6 separate regions of the Homo sapiens genome follow, and regions 2, 3, 4, 5 and 6 are each linked to region 1. The links are contacts of gene promoters, found by promoter capture Hi-C in blood cells and fetal thymus (Javierre and others, 2016). All regions are on one chromosome and are shown on one strand. The core of a region is centred on a gene start or on the middle of the fragment in contact, and the rest is flanking DNA. Distances in the headings are between cores, read along the strand shown. Region 1 holds the start of DNAJC2 (DnaJ heat shock protein family (Hsp40) member C2). Region 2 overlaps KMT2E-AS1 (KMT2E antisense RNA 1). Region 3 overlaps LOC101927902 (a long non-coding RNA gene). Region 4 holds the start of LOC101927902 (a long non-coding RNA gene). Region 5 overlaps LHFPL3-AS2 (LHFPL3 antisense RNA 2). Region 6 overlaps LHFPL3 (LHFPL tetraspan subfamily member 3).

Region 1 (3,121 bases), core at 405-2,904:
CGTGGCTCACCCCTGTAATTCCAGCACTTTGGGAGGCTGAAGCAGGCAGATCATGAGGTCAGGAGTTGGAGACCAGCCTGGCCAACATGGCTAAACCCCGTCTCTACTACAAATACAGAAATTAGCTGGGCGTGGTGGCACGCACCTGTAATCCCAGCTACTCGGGAGGCTGAGGCAGGAGAATCGCTTGAACCTGGGAGGCAGAGATTGCAGTGAGCCGAAATCAGGCCACTGCACTCCAGCCTGGGCGACAGAGCAAGCCTCTGTCTCAGAAAAGAAAACAACAAAAAAACAAAAACCCATGTTAGAGTTAATGGTAAAATTGAATGGGAGGAGGTGTGAGGAAAAAAATATATTAATATGAAGAAAGTGGAGTCAGGTTACTTTGCACCTTGGAGCATGTTTTAACAGTGGTTGCATTAGTAGGGATCAGGAAGAGGTTTTGGGGCAGAAGATTAGTTCAATTTTTTTTTTTTTAAAGACGGGGTCTCACTGTTACCCAGGCTGGAGCGCAATGGTGTGATCTCAGCTCACTGCAACCTCCACCTCCCGGCCTCAACGATCTTCCCACCTCAGCCTCCCTTAGTTCAATTTTTGAAAAGTCAGTTTTGAAGTGACAATTTTATCATGCAGCAGATATACAGACCAATTAAATGTATTTAATTGGCCTGGCACAGTGACTCACGCCTCTAATCCCAGAGTTTTGGGAGACTGAGGCAGGAGGATCCCTTGAGGCCAGGAGTTCAAGACCACCTTGGGCAACATAGTGAGACCCTGTCTCTACAAAAAAAAATATACATATATATATATATAATATATTTAAAAACTTTAATTGTGAAAATATAATGAAATTAGTAAGTTATTTTCTAATTTACTAATTTCTGGTGGTCCTTGCTAAAGAGTGGCATATCAAGTTTATTTTATTGAACCTGTTTCAGATACTGCTGTTGGGGGTGAGCCTTTACCCACTGTTTGTTTTTGCTAGTTTTTGCTTTTGACTGCAGTCTTAGAAGGAAGCATATAGTAGGAATACAATTGATTTTATTATACATTAAAAAATTAAGTCCCAGAGTCCTATAATTGGGAATATCTTGAATAAAAACTTCATTAGAACAAGGTAAAAATATTGCTGGCCTTGGAATACAATCTAACACACTAGAGAGAGGTTTCTTCTCCAAGCGAGTATTAAAAGATATAATGCAGGTAAATTAGTAATAGCACGACAAATATTAGCTGCTATTATCATCATCAAGTTAAACACAAATGTATCACAAATACACGTACGTAATTCTCCGCAAATGTATATACTAGTCGTCGATACTGGTTCATACAGGTATTTTCATTTTTTACTTAAAAGTATAGCGCTCCTGGGAAAATCACTGATTAGGTTCAGATTAATACATAAAGCAGTAAGAACTTAAAGATAATATAAAAAGAACTGCTTTTAAAGGTTATGTTCTATGTATTGCACTGGGACGTGGAATATAATCCTTTTTACAGGAAAACTGATGCGCCTAGGAACCATTCTCTCGTGCGACTTGGTCTCCAGCCGGATCTCAGTCAGTATAGAACTAGGTTACCGCACACGTTGGCGGGGGTGGGAGGGTGTGAGACTGGCCTCCACACCACGAAAGATCCATCCCGGAAGTGCTTACTGGTCGTCTCCATGCGCCGGTTCCTGGGCGTCTTAGAGCCAAGGCGCGAGGCTCGGAGTGAGAGGTAGAGCTGGAGGGGACCCTAAGCGCCCTCCGCCCGGGACGTGAGCCGCTGCGCCCACCGGGCTAGACCCGGCGCCATCATGCTGCTTCTGCCAAGCGCCGCGGACGGCCGGGGCACCGCCATCACCCACGCTCTGACCTCTGGTAAGTGCCCACCCAACCTCGGTTCCTTCTCACCTCAGCTGCCCCTGCCTCAGTCCTCCGCCTCGGCAACCCTGGGCTCTCTCTACCCTTGACCCTGGCGACTAGCCCCGGGGCCGTATGGGGCCGTGACGAGTGCCTTTTTGCTCCGTGTTTTAAAGTAATCCTACCCTAGATTAGAAGGAAGGAGGGTGAGGGGTGCCTTCCTTTTGCTCCTACCGTTGCTTCCTCCTCTCGCCGCTGCTGACTCATGGATTGGGCTGAGCATTTCGGGACGGAACCCCCCAGCACCCCAGAAAGGTTCTCATAAGCATCTCCTTGCCTACGGTGGAAAGACTACGCGCAGCGAGCACCCCACGTGCCTGGGGTCGTACAAAGCTTTGCTACTGGCGCTCTCTTAAACAACTTTCTCCCTCTCTACGTTTGCTCCGGCCTTGTTTTTTAAATGTCACAACTCAGACACCGCTCCTCATACTCGGTGTTCAAAGACTGTGCTGCTGAAAAGATCCGCGTAGACTTTGAAAGGCAGTTATTACAAGTGAAACTTGTCCTGCTGCTGTAGGTTTTAGTTTTATGGCCCAGGACAGTCATGAGTATTGTAAACTTAAGAGTCTTCAGGTCCAGTGATCTACAGTAATTCCCATAGCCAGTCACATAGGCGCTTGTTGAATGTGATTTTGAACATAACCCATGGCACGTGTTGCATTTATGTGTCTCCGTGTGCCTCTTACAACTAGAGCAAAAGGCTTAAAAGGCAGTGTTCTTAAAAGCCACACACCCATACTACACAGGTAGTACCTTTTTGACAGTGTTTTAATCCTCTCCTGTGTAAGGTGGAGGAAATCTTAAAATAAGTTGTTCAGGGATTTTCCTTTTTTGAATTGCTAGTATACACATGTACAGTGATTTACCCCCACTTCCCAGGAATAGATGATACCTTTACTACAAGTTTGTAATTTCAGAGAGTTTCTGTGGTCTCATTCAAGCTTCCTAGGAACTGAATGAGATAAATAGGTATTGTTCCCATTTTACAGGTGAAGACATCCTGATTCATTTCAGGTCACATAGCCACTGTCAGACCTAGTCTAAAACCCAGAGTGTCTGGTTTCAGATTGAGAGCTTGTTCCACTACAGCTTAGCTGCATTAGTAAATTCCCATTTGCTGCTTGGAAAATTGCTTTCAGGACAAATTCTTGTTAGTGAATTCTTAAAATTTTTAAGAGCTATATTCAAGATTTTAATAATTAAGACAGTTTGAGTTG
Region 2 (3,121 bases), core at 456-2,955, 1.7 Mb before region 1:
ATTCCTTAAGGTTCCTGCATCATCATGAAATTTGAAGCACTTTTATAGTAGTACAAACTATACTTTTAGCTTTTGAAATCTCGATAGGAGAAAATATCCAGCAGTTTTAGGGGCTATTTTGGCATATTCATTAAGGTAGACTAAGTTTGTTTTTCGTTTTTCCCACTTAGCCAAACTAGTTAAAGTAGTCAAAACTAGCAAATAATTTTTAAAGGGCTTCTCCTTTTGGGTGGTGTAGAGGGTGGGGAGTTATTCAACAAACACATTTGCAGCCAAAATCTGGCCTACTTCTTGGCAGAGCGCTTATACTTGGTGCTACGAGAAAATGATTGCTGGACCTGAAAAGAACCTGAGGTCAAGGTTGTGCTATTTCCTTAAGTCTTAGTTGTAGGCTCTTGGTAGTTTGAAAACAAGATTGGGTTTTTAATTCATTTGTGTATCCTTAAATCCTCACTAGTTTTTGTGGATTTCTTTTTTCAGTTATAAGCAACTGAATGTGGATGAGCTATAAATATTTAGTACAAAGAATGTAATTTGTCCACTCTGAATAGAAAGTAAGCATTAAGAACTCTTGAATGTCTTCAAGGGTTACTTTGTTACGTGTAAGATGTCTCCCCTTCCTTCATAGCAGTTTTTATTCCTGCTTAAAAAGGGAACTAAATATGAAGTCAGTAGATTTTAAGGTAATTTTCAGAATGTTTCTACTTTCACCGTGCCTTAATAAGGAAAAAAGGCCATTTTCCAAGCGAATGGAAACACCCTTTCCTTGTTTTGTGCCTTTAATCAGCGTGTACCTTCATTGTTCCTGATTGCCAAATCCACGAACTTCTTGAGCTCTCAATTTTTCTTGACTTTCCTATGGCATTTTAAATACTGTTCATACTTGGAATTACTTTTCTTTGACTGCCTTCATACATTCATATATTCTGCCTGGGCAATTTCATTTGGGCCTATTATGTTCCAATACCTCTCCAATTTTCACCTCCATCTTAGCTCTGCCAGCTTCAGTGCCACAGGTAGGCAATGTAAAAGTTTACTGGGGACCACAGGCTTTCTGAGCTCAATAAAAATACTAAGCTTGGTACTTGTTTTTTAAGAATTTTCTTCCCCCATCCCCTCACAAAGATTATTTGAGTAAATTACACCCCAACCTCCTTTTCCTTGTTTTTGTTGAAATTATTGTCTCTTAACTTTGGAACATTGCAGTTGCGGTAAGCTTACTAGGTTCACATAGCATATCTTCTGGTGTGTTAAAATTAAAATGCACACCATCTCAAAAGTGCTATGCCATTTCATACCTTTGTGCTTTTGTCCTGCTACCTGGAGTGCGTCTTTCTCACTTCTGGATAATACAATTTGAACCTTTTCTTTGCCTCTTGAAACTGCAAAATCCCTACTCGCAAGTAAATGTGTCATTCTTTATGTTGATAACCCAGCCTAGTGCTTGACACTTGATGGGCATTCAGGTATACATGGTTTTTTAGAGATTGATAAGATTAACTGTGCAGTCTATAAACTGTAAATACTGGCTTTTAAACTCTTTTAAAGGAGCTCTTTTGATAAACAATTTGGATAAGAGATGAAAGGTTAGGGAGGCTCCAGGCAAGGCAGAAGACTGCTGATGGCCCAGAGATAGTTCTGCCCCAAAAAGGTGGGAAGAAGAAAAAAACTGAGCTGGATATTTTTAAGGAAATATATTTTATAGCATTTTTCTTTAATGCCTAGTTTTGCTGCAAGCACTGAAGTTTATCCTGCATTTGTATTTCTTATTTGAAAAAGAAATGGCCTTTGGGGTTTGTTTTGTTTTTTGTTCCTTTGTAAGCACACTGCAAAAGCGGCGTTGTCAGCGTTGTCTTTTGAGGTATCAAACGTGCTTTCAGTCAGCAAATATCTTGTATATAGTACCATTCCTAATAAACTAAATTGGTTATCAACCTAATACAAACGGTACTTCATACAACTTAAGCCTAAACTAGATTAGATTATGTAGAAACTTATTCTTAGAGAATATATCGCCTTAATATTTCTTATCCTGAAAAGAGTATTTCTTAAGTGCCCCTCTCAAAGTATATCGATTAATATTTGTCTCAAATTTAAAACTATATCCTGGTTTTTCCCTTACAGTTGTTTAGCAAGTAAATGTTTACTTACTAATTTATTTTCTCCCAGACTTCATTCTACCAGTTTAAGCTTAGCTCAGTTTTGTTTTTTGGTTTTGAGAAGGAGCTTTGCTCTGTCACTCAGGCTGGAGTGCAGTGGTACGTTCTCAGCTCACTGCAGCCTCCGGCTCCTGGGTTCAAGCGATTCTCCTGCTTCAGTCCGTGAGTAGCTGGAACTACAGGCGCACACCACCACGCCCAGCTAATTTTTGTATTTTTAGTAGAGACAGGGTTTCACCATGTTGGCCGGGCTGGTCTTGAACTCCTGACCTCAGGTGATCTGCCTGCCTCAGCCTCCCAAAGTGCTGGGATTATAGGCGTGAGCCACCGTGCCCATCCTAAACTTAGCTCAGTTTTAATGCTACTTCCATTTCTTTATGTATAGTTTGATGTAAGAATAACAGTTGGAAGTAAGGATTTAGGAATAACAAGAGTTTGGGATTTTTGTTTTTTTAATTAGCAAGGTAATGCCACATCAGGTCATTAGTGACATTAATGAGAGAACAGGGGAATTATTGGAAAGTCTTGACTTAAGGCCAGACGAGAAATCCTTAACTGCTAGTGTGACTTCCCTCCCCACAAAAGAGAATGCTCTCGTAATACACCGAACTGTTGGATGCTGTTGTATATACTTTATATATAATCTTACCCAAGGTGGCAGAGCATTAACTTTAACATCTGTCTCCCTGACCTCACCAGAGTTCATAATCTTTGCCCTACTTACACTGTCTGAAGGATGACTTGGCCTTTTTTTTTTTTTTTTTTTTTTTAATTGAGACAGAGTCTTGCACAGTTGCCCAGGCTGGAGTGCAGTGGCACGATCTCGGCTCACGGCAGCCTCCACCTCCTGGGTTCAAGTGATTCTCCTGCATCACCCTCCCCAGTAGCTGGGATTACAGACGCTTGTCACCGCGCCTGGCTAATTTTTGTATTTCGGGGTTTCGCCATGTTGGCCAGGCTGG
Region 3 (3,121 bases), core at 161-2,660, 1.6 Mb before region 1:
TTTGAGCCACACTACAACCCTAGGAAGAATGTATGTGCTTTTTTTTTTTTTTTTTTTTTGAGATGGAGTCTCACTCTGTCGCCCAGGCTGGAGTGCAGTGGCGGGATCTCGGCTCACTGCAAGCAGGTTCAAGCAATTCTCATGCCTCAGCCTCCTGAATAGCTGGGACTACAGGTGTGCACCACTGCACCCAGCTAATTTTTGCTTTTTTTTAGAGACGAGGTTTCACCATGTTGGCCAGGCTGGTTTTGAACTCCTGAGCTCATGATCTGCCCTTCTCGGCCTCCCAAAGCACTGGGATTACAGGCATGAGCCACCATGCCTGGCCTGGAAGAATGTGCTTTATTTCCATTTTACAGGTAAGGAAACTGAGCCCTAGAGAGGTTAAGTAACTTGCCCAAGATTACACAGCTACTAAGAGGCAGAACAAGGTTCTGGAGGAAGCTGTTTACCTCCAGGGTCTACAAATCCTAACTTCTACATGAGTCTGGCTTACATGGCAAATGGGGAATGGAAGTTTTCGAAGATGCCCAGAAAGACACAGAGATCTGAAACTTTGTCTAGGAAGAAGAGTGAGGACCAGTTATCACAGGCATCCATATTCCTAGGTTCACAGCTTATCTACCCACTGACAGGGGGCCATGTATGAACTCGATGGCCTACAGTAAGCTTTTCAGGGCTTGTCATTTTGCTCTAGGAAACTGCTATCCAGCCCCATGTGGTTCCTGGATCACTCCGAAGTGCTTTAGAGTCACTTTAATCCTTGAGTTTAAAGTTTAAAGCAGATAACGTATACAGAAACATAGAAAAGGAACCAAAGAAAACTAACAAAATAAAGTTTGGTAATTTTCAAATCTTGCTACATAATTCCTTGCTTGGGAAGAAATGCTCAAAAATCAACAAAAGGAGGACAAAAACAGGATGTTAAAAAGCATTTTTATGTTTTAAGAAATTTACTGCCAGACTAAGAGTATTTCTGCCAAAACTAACATGCTTCTTTCCTACAACCTACACAATCTGGGGTTTGCTGAGAATTTGGTTGGATTTTGAGGGTGAGACCATAATTTCCCACCATGTTCATTTTCAAAAAGAATGTCCCACACATGAAAACACACACACGCACACACACACACACAAACACACACACACACACACAAATGCTCCAGTGGAAGTAGTGGTCCTGCAGTTCCTACTATGAGTAAAGTATCCCACAAAGATTTGGCCCAGAGATTGGCATCTGACATGGAGTCTCTTTTAGTGCACTCATTGCAAATCTCCATCTGAAGGTCTGTAAGGAACATGGCTGTGCTGCAGCCAAGCAGGCATAGAGCAGCAGGCATAGGTCAAGGTAAACAGCCTAAATGACTCAGCAGTATTGGGGCGCAAGTGCAGTCTCGTGTCTTATACAATCATAGCCATGTAGACATAACATAGAGAAGCTCACCACCTGGCTCTCAGCCACTATTGTCTGTGTAGTGTATAAATGTAACACTGACCCTGTAAAGGGGCTGCTGAATAAAGCCATGTCTCACTTACATGCTGTCTCTCAGGTGTTCTTCCAGCTCCCTGCCCTGTGTCCACCCACTCCCCTCAGCCCTCAGCTGGGGCCAGAACCTGACCCCAAGCATGACAAGGTTTTTGTCCTGTGGGCTGGGGATGCAAAAGGACACAAGATCATGAACATGTGGGAAGGACCTGGGACTGGGAGCTAAACAAACTGGACTCAAATTCTGGATTCACCAATTCCTAGCAGTGTGATCTCTCTGAGCATCTGTTTCCTCATCTGTGAAATGAGAAGCAAAATACCATCCTTCAGGATTGTCAATGAGGCATTGTATGTATATCACTCAGCACAGCCTGAAAGTAGTAGCTTAAGCCCCTCTACTTGGGAGAACACTGGATTAGGTCCACGTGACTGACAGCTAGGAACACAGAGTGAGAAAAATCAAGACTGAGGGGTGAGCCAAGGGATAACAGAAGAGACCGAAGCATCATGAGGAAAGAGAAGAGGAGACAGAGGAAAGCAGGGAGGAAGGACTTGCTCCTTTTTGTCCTCTAAGATAGATTTGGCAAAGACAAAAGACTCAAGAGGAAAATGAGACATTATTTTGCACCATCCAGGGGCAAGATTTTGCAAGTACTCAAGCTTCTCTCTTCCAGATATTAAAGGCATAGCAAAGGGGTTATATTATTACTACTGAATGCTAGAATACTATTTTTAAAACATTGATTTTGATTTTTTTCTTCTAGATTTTTTTTCTTCTATTCCATCTCCCCATTTGAACAGACAAACCATTCTTTGCTCCTATCTAAGAGATGGGTCTTACAAGCAGAAAGCAAAGTTTTTCAGTTTCAAAAGCCTGGGCCGGTGGTTCTCAAAGTATGGTCTCCAGACCACATCAGCATCACCTGGATACTCGTTAGAAAGGGAAATTCTTGGGCCCTACCCCAGACCTACTGAATCAGCACCTCTGGGGGTTGGGCTCCACGTTCTGTGTTTTAACAGGCCCTCCAGGTGACTCAGATGTAGGCTGCAGATTGAAAACCACTGGTCTAGATCCTTAGTGAACTGGAGAGAACAAACTGGTAAAAGATTTAGGAGAAAACATCAGGAATAACAGCAAAGCTCCTTACCTAAGTTAGAAAAATATTCTCTAGGCTGAGGGAGGAGGGGAGATAGAAGGGAAGTGATAAGACAGAGAGGTGGTGGGGACAGGAGGAGAGGGCTAGAAGTGAGTGCCAGCCTACATTTTAGTAAGCCCCTTTGCCTATGCCAGACCATTGGGTTAGTTGCCTTCTGGTAGGTGTCTAGTGAGGACTTATGCCTGACAGCAAGCAACAACCAGGACATTGTTTATTGGCTAACAGTCAGAGCAAAATGTTGGGTTTGTGTCCTCCCTATTCCATATGGACAGTCCTTCCTTACAACATCCTGGAATGCTCATTAACTCTTGAGAAGGAAGGTGAGGCCCTGGACCCCTAGTGACCTGATGGTTAGGGAAGGGAGAATAAGCCCTGCACTTGATTTTGGTGGGGATGAACAGAACCAACACAAGATTACCCCTGAGCCAGGGCAAGATAACACTCACCCCAATTATAATGACTACTTGTGTTGGAAATT
Region 4 (3,121 bases), core at 383-2,882, 1.6 Mb before region 1:
AAAATAAAAAATTATCCACGATGAACAAAATATCAAAAATTTTAAAAGAACTGCACTAAAATATTTATCTTGTTTACTGAGTTTTTTGGCGGCCCCTTAAATTTTGCACCCATGGGCCCGGCATTGTGGCTCACACCTGTAATCCCAACACTTTGGGAGGCTGAGGTGGGTGGATCACCTGAGGTCAGGAGTTCAAGACCAGCCTGGCCAACACAGTGAAACCCGTCTCTGCTAAAAATACAAAAATCAGCTGGCTGTGGTGGCACACACCTGTAATCCCAGCTAGTCGGGAGGCTGAGGCAGGAGAATCAGCTTGAACCTGAGAGGCAGAGGTTGCAGTGAGCCGAGATCGCTCCACTGCACTCCAGCCTGGGTGACAGAGCGAGACTCCATCTAAAAAAAAAAAATTGAATTTTGCACCCATGTTGAGTGCCTCCTATGCCTCACTCTAGTCCCTGCTCTGCTGTGAAATGGTGTGCTGTTGACAGGCACTCAGAAATATGAAACATGGAAATGCTCATTTTGATTATCAGGAGGTGAGGGTCCTCCAAGATGTGTGGAATGTGTTGCCCAGATAACCCAGGCCATGTTGCTTTTTTGTCTTTCTTTTTTAGAGACAGTGTATCACTCTGTTGCCCAGGCTGTAGTGCAGTGGGACAGTCATAGCTTGCTGCATTACTTCAAGCAATCCTGCTGCCTCAGCCTTCTAAGTAGCTGGGACTACAGACGCAAACCACCAGCTAATTTTCTAATTTTTTTTTTTTGATGGACTCTCACTCTGTCACTCAGGCTGGAGTGCAGTGGCACGGTCTCGGCTCGCTGCAACCTCCACCTCCTGGGTTCAAGTGATTCTCCTGCCTCAGCCTCCCAAGTAGCTGGGATTACAGGCATGCGCCACCACACCAGGCTAATTTTGTATTTTTAGTAGAGATGGGGTTTCTCCATGTTGGTCACGCTGGTCTGGAACTCCTGACCTCAGGTGACCTGCCCCCCTCGGCCTCTCAAAGTGGTGGGATTACAGGCATGAGCCACCGTGCCTGGCCTCTAATTTTTTATAGAGATGGGGTCTCACTATGTTCCCTGGGCTCGTCTCAAATTCTTGGCCTTAAGCGATCCTCCTACCTTGGCCTCCCAAAGGGTTGGGATTACAGGCATGAGCCACTGTGCCTGGACACATGTTTCTTAAGACCTAGGTGTTGAAGTTACAATTATGCCAGGGAATACAACTGGAAAGCTGCCTAGAAGAGCTGCAGTCCAGGCTACCCGAACCTTCCATAGGAGACTGGGGCAAGCGTCTGGGGGAGGCGGTTGCCTGCTTGGTATCATCTAAAAAGGATTGGAAAGGTTCCTTTCTCTAAGGGTCTCTTCTAGACATGCCATCAGTAGAGTTGTCAATCCTTTGGCTCTTGTAATTGTCTTGGTTTTAAAGAAACTTCCATTAAAATAATATAACTATCTCTGTGGTTATTATTGGCAGAGATCTTAGCAGAGTCTTACTTATTCATTCATTCAACAAGCATTGAGCACCACATACCAGGAATGCCCAGTCTAATGAGAGTGGCAAGGTGGAGGCCAGGGCAGGATGGCAGAGGGGCCACTCATTCGATTCTGATCTGCTTCCACCCGGGACTGCAACTGAGGAAGAGCAAGATTCAGAGCAGGTGCCTACCTGGGATCACAAGAGAGAGGTGCAGGAAGAGACAGGGAGAGCCCTCAAAACACTTCTCACTCCTTTCAGATGTACCTGGGCTATGCAGGGCTAGAGGAGGCAGCCAGCGATGGGCTTTGATTCATGGAAGTCTTGTTGCACAACTCTGGAGGCGGGGGCGCCATTCTCATAGAATACAATGTACCACTCAGGCATTGCACAGGATTGGGAAAGTTCTCTGGGAAGTGAAGCCTATCAGTAAGGTGGCAGGGGAGGGGAGTTTTCCCCTGAGGATATGCAGCTGTGCACCTGGCGGTTCTGTGGGTGGGATCCTGCTGTGTCCGGAATTGGTGGGTTCTTGGTTTCACTGACTTCAAGAATGAAGCCGTGGACCCTCGCCGTGAGTGTTATAGTTCTTAAAGGCGGCGTGTCCGGAGTTTCTTCCTTCTGGTGGGGTTCGTGGTCTCGCCGGCTCAGGAGTGAAGCTGCAGATCTTCGCGGTGAGTGTTACAGCTCCTAAGGCGGCGCATCTGGAATTGTTCGTTCCTCCTGGTGGGTTCGTGGTCTCGCTGGCTTTAGGAGTGAAGCTGCAGACTTTCGCGGTGAGTGTTACAGCTCTTAAGGCCGCGCGTCTGGAGTTGTTCGTTCCTCCCGGTGGGTTTGTGGTCTCTCTGGCTTTAGGAGTGAAGCTGCAGACCTTCGCCGTGAGTGTTACAGCTCACAAAGGCAATGTGGACCCAAAGAGCGAGCAGCAGCAAGATTTATTGCAAAGAGCAAAAGAACAAAGCTCCCACAGCCCGGAAGGGGACCGGAGAGGATTGCCACTGCCAGCTGGGGCAGCCTGCTTTTATTCTATTATCTGGCCCCACCCACATCCTGCTGATTGGTCCATTTTACAGAGAGAGGAGTGGTCTGTTTTGACAGGGTGCTGAATGGTGCGTTTACAATCCCTGAGCTAGACACAAAGGTTCTCCACGTCCCCACCAGATTAGCTAGATACAGAGTGTTGATTGGTGCATTCACAAACCCTGAGCTAGACACAGGGTGCTGATTGGTGTGTTTACAAATCTTGAGCTAGTACAGAGTGCCGATTGGTGTATTTACAATCCCTTAGCTAGACAAAAAGTTTCTCCAAGTCCCCACCAGTCAGGAGCCCAGCTGGCTTCACGCAGTGGATTCTGCACGGGGGCTTCAGGTGGAGCTGCTTGCCAGTCCCACACCGTGCGCCCGCACTCCTCAGCCCTTGGGTGGTCTATGGGACTGGGCACCGTGGAGCAGGTGGCGGCACTCGTCGGGGAGGCTTGGGCCCCCCAGGAGCCCACGGAGGGTGGGGGAGTCTCAGGCATGGTGGGCTGCGGGTCCCGAGCCCAGCCCCGTGGGGAGGCAGCTAAGGTCCAGCGAGAAATCGAGCGCAGCGATGGTGGGCGGCACTGCTGGGGGACCCAGCACACACGCTGCAGCCGCTGGCCCGGG
Region 5 (3,121 bases), core at 271-2,770, 1.6 Mb before region 1:
ATTCATATCTTTATCATTTTTGAAAAATTTTCAGACATTTTCTATTCAAATATTGCCTTTCCCTTATTCTCTCTATTTCTCCTGTTGGAAATCTGGTTAGATGTCTGTGTCTTCTCTGTTGTTTAACCTCTTTGTCATTTACCAACCCCTTGGCTTTTTGTATTGTATTCTGTGTAATTTCTTTAGATCTGTCTACTAGTTCACAGCTCCTCTCTTCAGTTATACCTGTTTGTAATTTACACATTGTACTTTAAATTTCAGTGATTATAGTTTTAATTTCTAAGACTTAAAAAATTTCCTTCTAATCTATCTGATTATATGTAATGTACTCTTTATTGTATTCATTGTTTTAGACGCTGTCTTTATTTCCTTAACATGTAAAACATGATTATTTTATATTGTGTATCTGGTAATTCCACTATCTAAAATCTGTAGGGTGATAAGTCGGCTGTTAGTTATATCTGCTGATTATCGCTTACAGTTTATTTGTATATTTAGTAATTTTTATTTTTATTTTTGAGACGGAGTCTCGCTGTCTCCCAGGCCGGAGTGCAGTGGCGCGATCTCGGCTCACTGCAAGCTCCGCCCCCCGGGTTCACGCCATTCTCCTGCCTCAGCCTCCCGAGTAGCTGGGACTACAGGCACCCGCCACCACGCCCGGCTAATTTTTTTCTTTTTGTATTTTTAGTAGAGACGGGGTTTCACCGTGTTCGCCAGGATGGTCTCGATCTCCTGACCTCGTGATCCGCCTGCCTCGGCCTCCCAAAGTGCTGGGATTATAGGCGTGAGCCACCGCGCCCAGCCATATTTAGTAATTTTAAAATTGCAATTGCATACTTTGTTGAGCTTAATTGGTGAGAGCTATGCGAGAGATGCTTTCCTCTAGACAACAAATGCTTGTATCTGCCTGGTACAAGGGGCCCTAAAAAGCTCTTTAATTTCTTGGTTGGGGTTTCTTTGATCATATGGAGAGTGTAAGACTGAATTCCATACTTGACGGGGGCAGGCATATGATAAATTTCAAGGGGTCATTATTATTTTTTTTTTCCATCTAGAGCCAGTGTGGAGATGGTGTTCTTGATAGATTTCTTTCGCTAGCATGAGGATTTTTCCTAGACCACTCTTGCCTAGGATGTAGCCATCTTCAAGCATCCTGCTTTTGGATGTGAATGTCAAATTTAACTCACCTGCTTCCAGTGGCCCAACGCTTAATCTTCCATTCCCTACTTTGTTATACAGATTTACCTTCAGGCAAGCCCAGTTTTTGCCTTTGCTTACATTTCACACTTAGTTTTCAGCTCACTCCACTTCTTTTTTGAAATGTTTTTGGAATTTCCCTTATTTTCTTATAATCTAAGCTGTGTGTTAAAAATAAACTTATTGTAATTTATCTAAGATTTAATAGTATGGCATAAGAAAGGCTTTTTAGAGGCTGGGCTCAATGGCTCACGCCTGTAATCCCAGCACTATGGGAGGCCAAGGTGGGTGGATAATGAGGTCAGGAGTTCAAGACTAGCCTGGCCAACATGGTGAAACCCCGTCTCTACTAAAAATACAAAAATTAGCTGGGCATGGTGGTGCGGAGGTTGCAGTTAGCCAAGATCGCCCCACTGCACTCCAACCTGGGTGACAGAGCCAGACTCCGTCTTAAAAAAAAAAAAAAAAAAAAAAAAAAAAGAAAGGCTTTTTAGAGTATCTAGTTTATACTGCTAGATGCCGAAACCAAAAGTAATCTTTTAGAAATGTGAAATAGTTTATATCACTCTTCTGCTTAAGATCCTCCAGTGGCTTTTTCTCACACTTAAAATGTACAAACTATCCTGGCCTACAAAGCCCAGAGCTGGGTCCTAGCTTAGCCCACGTGGCTCCCCACTCTGCCACCTTGCCGTTCCTGGTCTGGCATGCCTTCTGCTTTTTTCACACGTGGCTTTTAAACGTTTGTTCAGGTCTCACTCTAAATGCCACCTTTTCATGGAGGCCTTACCTGACTCCTCTCTCCATTTCTCTGTCAATCACCCTGTTTTAATTCTCTTTAGGGCATCTATTATTAGCTGACATTTTCCAGTCTATTGTCTGTCTTCCCCTACTAGAACATAAGACCTATGAAAGGAAAGCAGGGTTTTGTGTGATTCACCACTATATTCTCAGAGTTTAGAACAGTTCTTGGCACATAGTAGGAACTCAATACATATTTCTTGAATCATTAGAGCTGAGCGTTGACTACTTATTCCCTTTAGACGGGACCTAGGCTCTTCAGTGCTCCACAGTTCCCACTACTTCCTTTTAAAAATTTATTTTATTTTATTTAAAAAATTATTGTTGTTTTTTTTTTTTATTTTCAGAGAAGGGATCTCACTATATTGCCTAGGCTGGTCACATACTCCTGGACTCAAGTGATCCATCTGCCTCAGCCTCCCAAAGTACTGGGATTAGAGGCCACTGTGCCAGGCCAGTTCCTACTACGCCCTATTATGTCCCCAGCTGAGCTTGCTTTGTGAATTTATTGGCCCTTGTACGCATTTGAATTTTCAATCCCTGCTTATAAATGTCACTCTAATTGTCTTCAGGATCTTCAGAGCAGAGACTTTTTTTTATGTTTCTTTTCTTCCTTCAGTGTCTTGCATATAGTAGGAGGGGAAGGAATGAACATTCACTGAATATCCCCTACCTGTCAAACACAACAACAGTATAGTTTAATTTATATCCTTACAACAATGCTATGGAGCTGAGTAATATTATTTATATCTATTTTACCAGTGAGGACACTGAGGCTTAGAGTTGTTCAGAGTCATATAGTAAACCAAGGATCAGGGATTGGAACCCACTCAGACAACATATACCCAGTATGAAGTGTTGTTGCTTCATATACCCAGTATGAAGGGTTGCTCATGTGCGAGGAATGGTTGGTTGTTTTCAATTTGCAAAGGGGAGATTGGGCAATTGGATATTGCAGGTCAAGTTTTACTTGAGTAGTCCAGCTATTTATTTAGTTATCAATTTCATTCCACTGAGTGTATGGAGAATTAGCTGGAGATATTCCTACATTTGGCCAGAAGAGGCTTTGGAGATGTTAACCATGCCTTCTACATGAGAGTCCTGCTGTTGACAGATATGGAATCCA
Region 6 (3,121 bases), core at 311-2,810, 1.5 Mb before region 1:
TTTTAGAGACAGAGTCTTGCCTTGTCAGCCAGGTTGGAGTGTAGTGGTATGATCACAGCTTATTGCAACCTCGAACTCTTGGGCTCAAGTGATCCTCCAGCCTCAGCCTCCCGAGTAGCTATGGCTACAGGTGCATACAATCAAATGCCTGGCTAATTAAAAACATTTTTTTTTCTGTAGAGATAGTTTCTCGCTATGTTGTCCAGGCTGGTCTTGAAATCCTGGCCTCAAGCAATCCTCCTGCTTCAGCGTGGGATTACAAGCATGAGCCACTGTGCCCAGCCTATACAGCCATTTAAAATGATTGTATAGCTCTATAATAAATGAATAACATACATACCATAATAAAAGAATAAAGCAGGATATGAAGTAGCATGATTAATGGAATCTCATTTTTGAAAATCAAATATGTTTATATGTACATAGAAAAAATATGGAAGGATCTACCCCATAATGTTAGTTGAGCTCTGAATGGTAGATTTAGGATTTTTTTTTTTTTTTTTTTTTTTTGAGACAGTCTCACTCTGTCACCCAGGCTGGAGTGCAGTGGCGTGGTCTCAGCTCACTGCAACCTCTGCCTCCCGGGTTCAGGTGATTCTCTTGCCTCAGCCTCTGGAATAGCTGGGATTACAGGTGCCCGCCACCACACCTGGCTAATTTTTGTATTTTTAGTAGAGACGGGGTTTCTCTATGTTGGCCAGGCTGGTTTTGAACGGCTGACCTTGTGATCCGCCTGCCTCAGTTTCCCAAAGTGCTAGGATTACAGGTGTGAGCCACCATGCCCTACGATTTAGGATGTTTTTTGACTCTGAAAAAGAAAAATTGTCTGATTTTTCTTTTTCTGTTTTTATTTTTACAGTGAGCTGAACACACATCATTTTTATAACTGGGAAAAATGTGCCACTATTATTTTGAAAATTAAATTCCTTGGAAATAAAAAGCTAAACATTCTACCATCTTCCATGTTATTGTGGGTTTGTATTTGCTTCTCTAAGAGAGTGATTAGGAGATGCTCTGAAGACTCTCAGCACACCAAAAGGATAGCTATTCTAAACATTCCTTTTAGCACCTTCACATACATTCAATGCATTCCTCAATGTATCACCCAATGCATTCTTGTTGAATAAGTGAATGAGCATTGAGAAGAAAATCTGTGATCAATATGCAAAGTGTTGCAAAAGAAGAACACTTTCATAAGGATGAGAAGTCATAACAATAGAAAATAATAACTTTCAATTTCTTTTTCTTAGATTCCTGGTAGCTGGATTAATTTGTGTTCAAAGTGATTCACTGAGTCTAGTGAGATCCTAGAACAAGGTTGGGGCTGTTTAAGTCACTCTAAGAGCTCCCTCCAGACATTTCTGTCAGCCTGTCTACACCATATCTCTTTTCATTATTCTTGTTGCCTTTGGTGGCTGTCACAGACAGGAGAGCCAAATAATGCTCCTAGCAGCACATATCATTTCTGCTTTGTCCATCTCTTGCTCACTATAATAGGACATTCTTCTTCCACAGATAGAACAGATTTCTGGTTCTTAGAAAGGCTTCCCAACCTCTGCCCAGGCGTTCATTTTATTTGTGATTCAGAGAATGGCTCTTGGCCAACACAAGAGAATGCCAATTCAGGGACTACTGTGGTTTGAATGTCCCCTCTGAAACTCATGTTGAAATCTAATTGCCATTGTAATAGTATTAACAGTGGGACCTTTAAAAGGTGCTTAGGTCATGAGGGGTCATGATGGATTAATGCTGTTGTCACTGGGAGTGGGGTCCCAATAAAGGGATGAAATTTGGCCTGATTTCCTGTCTCACACATGATAAAGGGATGATATTCAGCCTGCTTTCCAGTCTCGCACGCCTGCTTGCCCTTCCGCCATGTTATGATGCAGCCAGAAGGCCCTCACCAGAAGCAGCCCCTCAGCCTTGGACTTCCCAGCTTCCAGAACTGTAAGAAATACATTTATGGGAGTCTCTCTGAATCTGCTGTGATTGTGGGGGCTGCCTGAAAAAGAGAATTCAAACAAAACAAATTTTTTTTTTATGGTATTCTGTTATAGCAACACAAAACAGAGTAAGAAACCATTCAAAACAGACCCTTAATTTGGCAACTAGATGTCTCTGATATGAAAGTTGGGGGTAAGGCACCCAGATCTGCAGAAAGGCTCAAAAGATTTGTCCTCATAGCTGCAACAGTTGTGTCATAATGGTAGAAACAGAAATTCTCTACTATGGGAGATTAAAAAGAAATGAAACCTTCAGTGACCACCTACTCTGTTGCAGGCACGAGGCTGGGGAGCTGGGGCGCTGCTGGTGGGCTTCATGGTGCTGTGGTTCTGTCTATTCTCATCAGCCTGTGAGGCAAGAAAGTATTGGCAGCACCTCACAGGCCTTGTCCTCTTCATAGCCCCCTCCCGGGAGCCACATCAGTCTCCATTTCAGGTAAAAAAATGAATGAACAAATCACAAAGATGGTCCTCACTGGCCACCTGAGCCTGGCGTGTCATCCACAGAAGAGCCTGGCTTCCCCGCCATTTCTCCCATGGCCTCTGGCCTGAAATAGTTTTCTTCTTGTTAGCGGTTGATCTCAGCTCTGGGCAATGAGACCTTCACCCGGCCAGTGTTCAGAATCCACTGAACGGACTGAGGGGGAAGGACTGACAATCAGTTCTAAAGGGACAAACACACAGCCAATTTAGCTGCTTAGTTCCAGACCCTGCATGTAAACAGTAAGCTAGGAGCTCTGAGGCAAGTCTACTGCTCAAGGCAGCAACTGGGTATTTTCCCCTGAGCTCCACGGGGCGTTGTAATGCGGGGGAGGAAGGGGATGGAGCAAAGATTAAGATGCACAGGACCAGTAAGGCCTCCTGTCTGCTCTGCAGGTATAGAGCAGGAGAATCTCCCAACCACTTGTTTTTTTAGAGACAGGATTTCACTTTGTTGACCAGGTGAGTGAAGTGGCACAATCATAGTTCACTGCAGCCTTAAAATCCTGGGCTCAAGGGACCCTCCCAACTCAGGCTCTTGAGTAGCTAGACTATAAGTGAGTGCCATGAAGCCTGGCTAATTTGTTATTTTTATTTTTTGAAGGGAAGAGGGTCTCACTATGTAGCCAGGCTGGTCT

What was found. Contacts are between HindIII fragments. The CHiCAGO score rates a contact against its expected background, and 5 or more counts as called.
Region 2: a contact is called between a fragment that was not itself captured here and the fragment with the promoter of DNAJC2 in region 1, in 8 of 17 cell types (non-activated CD4 T cells, total B cells, total CD8 T cells and 5 more). The highest score is 12.4, in non-activated CD4 T cells.
Region 3: a contact is called between a fragment that was not itself captured here and the fragment with the promoter of DNAJC2 in region 1, in 1 of 17 cell types (total B cells). The highest score is 5.5, in total B cells.
Region 4: a contact is called between a fragment that was not itself captured here and the fragment with the promoter of DNAJC2 in region 1, in 5 of 17 cell types (naive CD8 T cells, total CD4 T cells, naive B cells and 2 more). The highest score is 7.2, in naive CD8 T cells.
Region 5: a fragment that was not itself captured here is called in contact with the fragment with the promoter of DNAJC2 in region 1 in 1 of 17 cell types (total B cells); the score reaches 6.1 in total B cells.
Region 6: a fragment that was not itself captured here is called in contact with the fragment with the promoter of DNAJC2 in region 1 in 1 of 17 cell types (activated CD4 T cells); the score reaches 5.2 in activated CD4 T cells.

Annotation. Positions count from the first base shown.
Region 1 is chr7:103,343,300-103,346,420 of GRCh38, reverse strand. DNAJC2 (DnaJ heat shock protein family (Hsp40) member C2) reads left to right here and starts at 1,654. Exons shown (of 17, transcript NM_014377.3): 1 at 1,654-1,862. The coding sequence starts at 1,799. It also overlaps a transcript of PMPCB not described here. RefSeq lists an enhancer at 1,472-1,711. The HindIII fragment of the contact is 5,590 bases long and covers 1-2,239 here.
Region 2 is chr7:105,008,576-105,011,696 of GRCh38, reverse strand. KMT2E-AS1 (KMT2E antisense RNA 1) reads left to right here. Exons shown (of 1, transcript NR_024586.1): 1 at 1-1,155. Among named protein-coding and RNA genes, the nearest start is that of KMT2E-AS1, 4.0 kb to the left of the region's middle. RefSeq lists an enhancer at 1-104. The HindIII fragment of the contact is 974 bases long and covers 1,219-2,192 here.
Region 3 is chr7:104,962,326-104,965,446 of GRCh38, reverse strand. It overlaps LOC101927902 (a long non-coding RNA gene), which reads right to left. Exons shown (of 2, transcript NR_187679.1): 2 at 3,113-3,121. Among named protein-coding and RNA genes, the nearest start is that of LINC01004, 27 kb to the left of the region's middle. The HindIII fragment of the contact is 1,477 bases long and covers 672-2,148 here.
Region 4 is chr7:104,940,294-104,943,414 of GRCh38, reverse strand. It overlaps LOC101927902 (a long non-coding RNA gene), which reads right to left and starts at 2,471. Exons shown (of 2, transcript NR_187679.1): 1 at 1,745-2,471. The HindIII fragment of the contact is 9,797 bases long and covers 1-3,121 here.
Region 5 is chr7:104,908,674-104,911,794 of GRCh38, reverse strand. All of the region lies in intron 3 of LHFPL3-AS2 (LHFPL3 antisense RNA 2), which reads left to right. Among named protein-coding and RNA genes, the nearest start is that of LHFPL3-AS2, 16 kb to the left of the region's middle. RefSeq lists a silencer at 1,460-1,616. The HindIII fragment of the contact is 7,345 bases long and covers 1-3,121 here.
Region 6 is chr7:104,890,098-104,893,218 of GRCh38, reverse strand. All of the region lies in intron 2 of LHFPL3 (LHFPL tetraspan subfamily member 3), which reads right to left. Among named protein-coding and RNA genes, the nearest start is that of LHFPL3-AS2, 35 kb to the left of the region's middle. The HindIII fragment of the contact is 5,504 bases long and covers 1-3,121 here.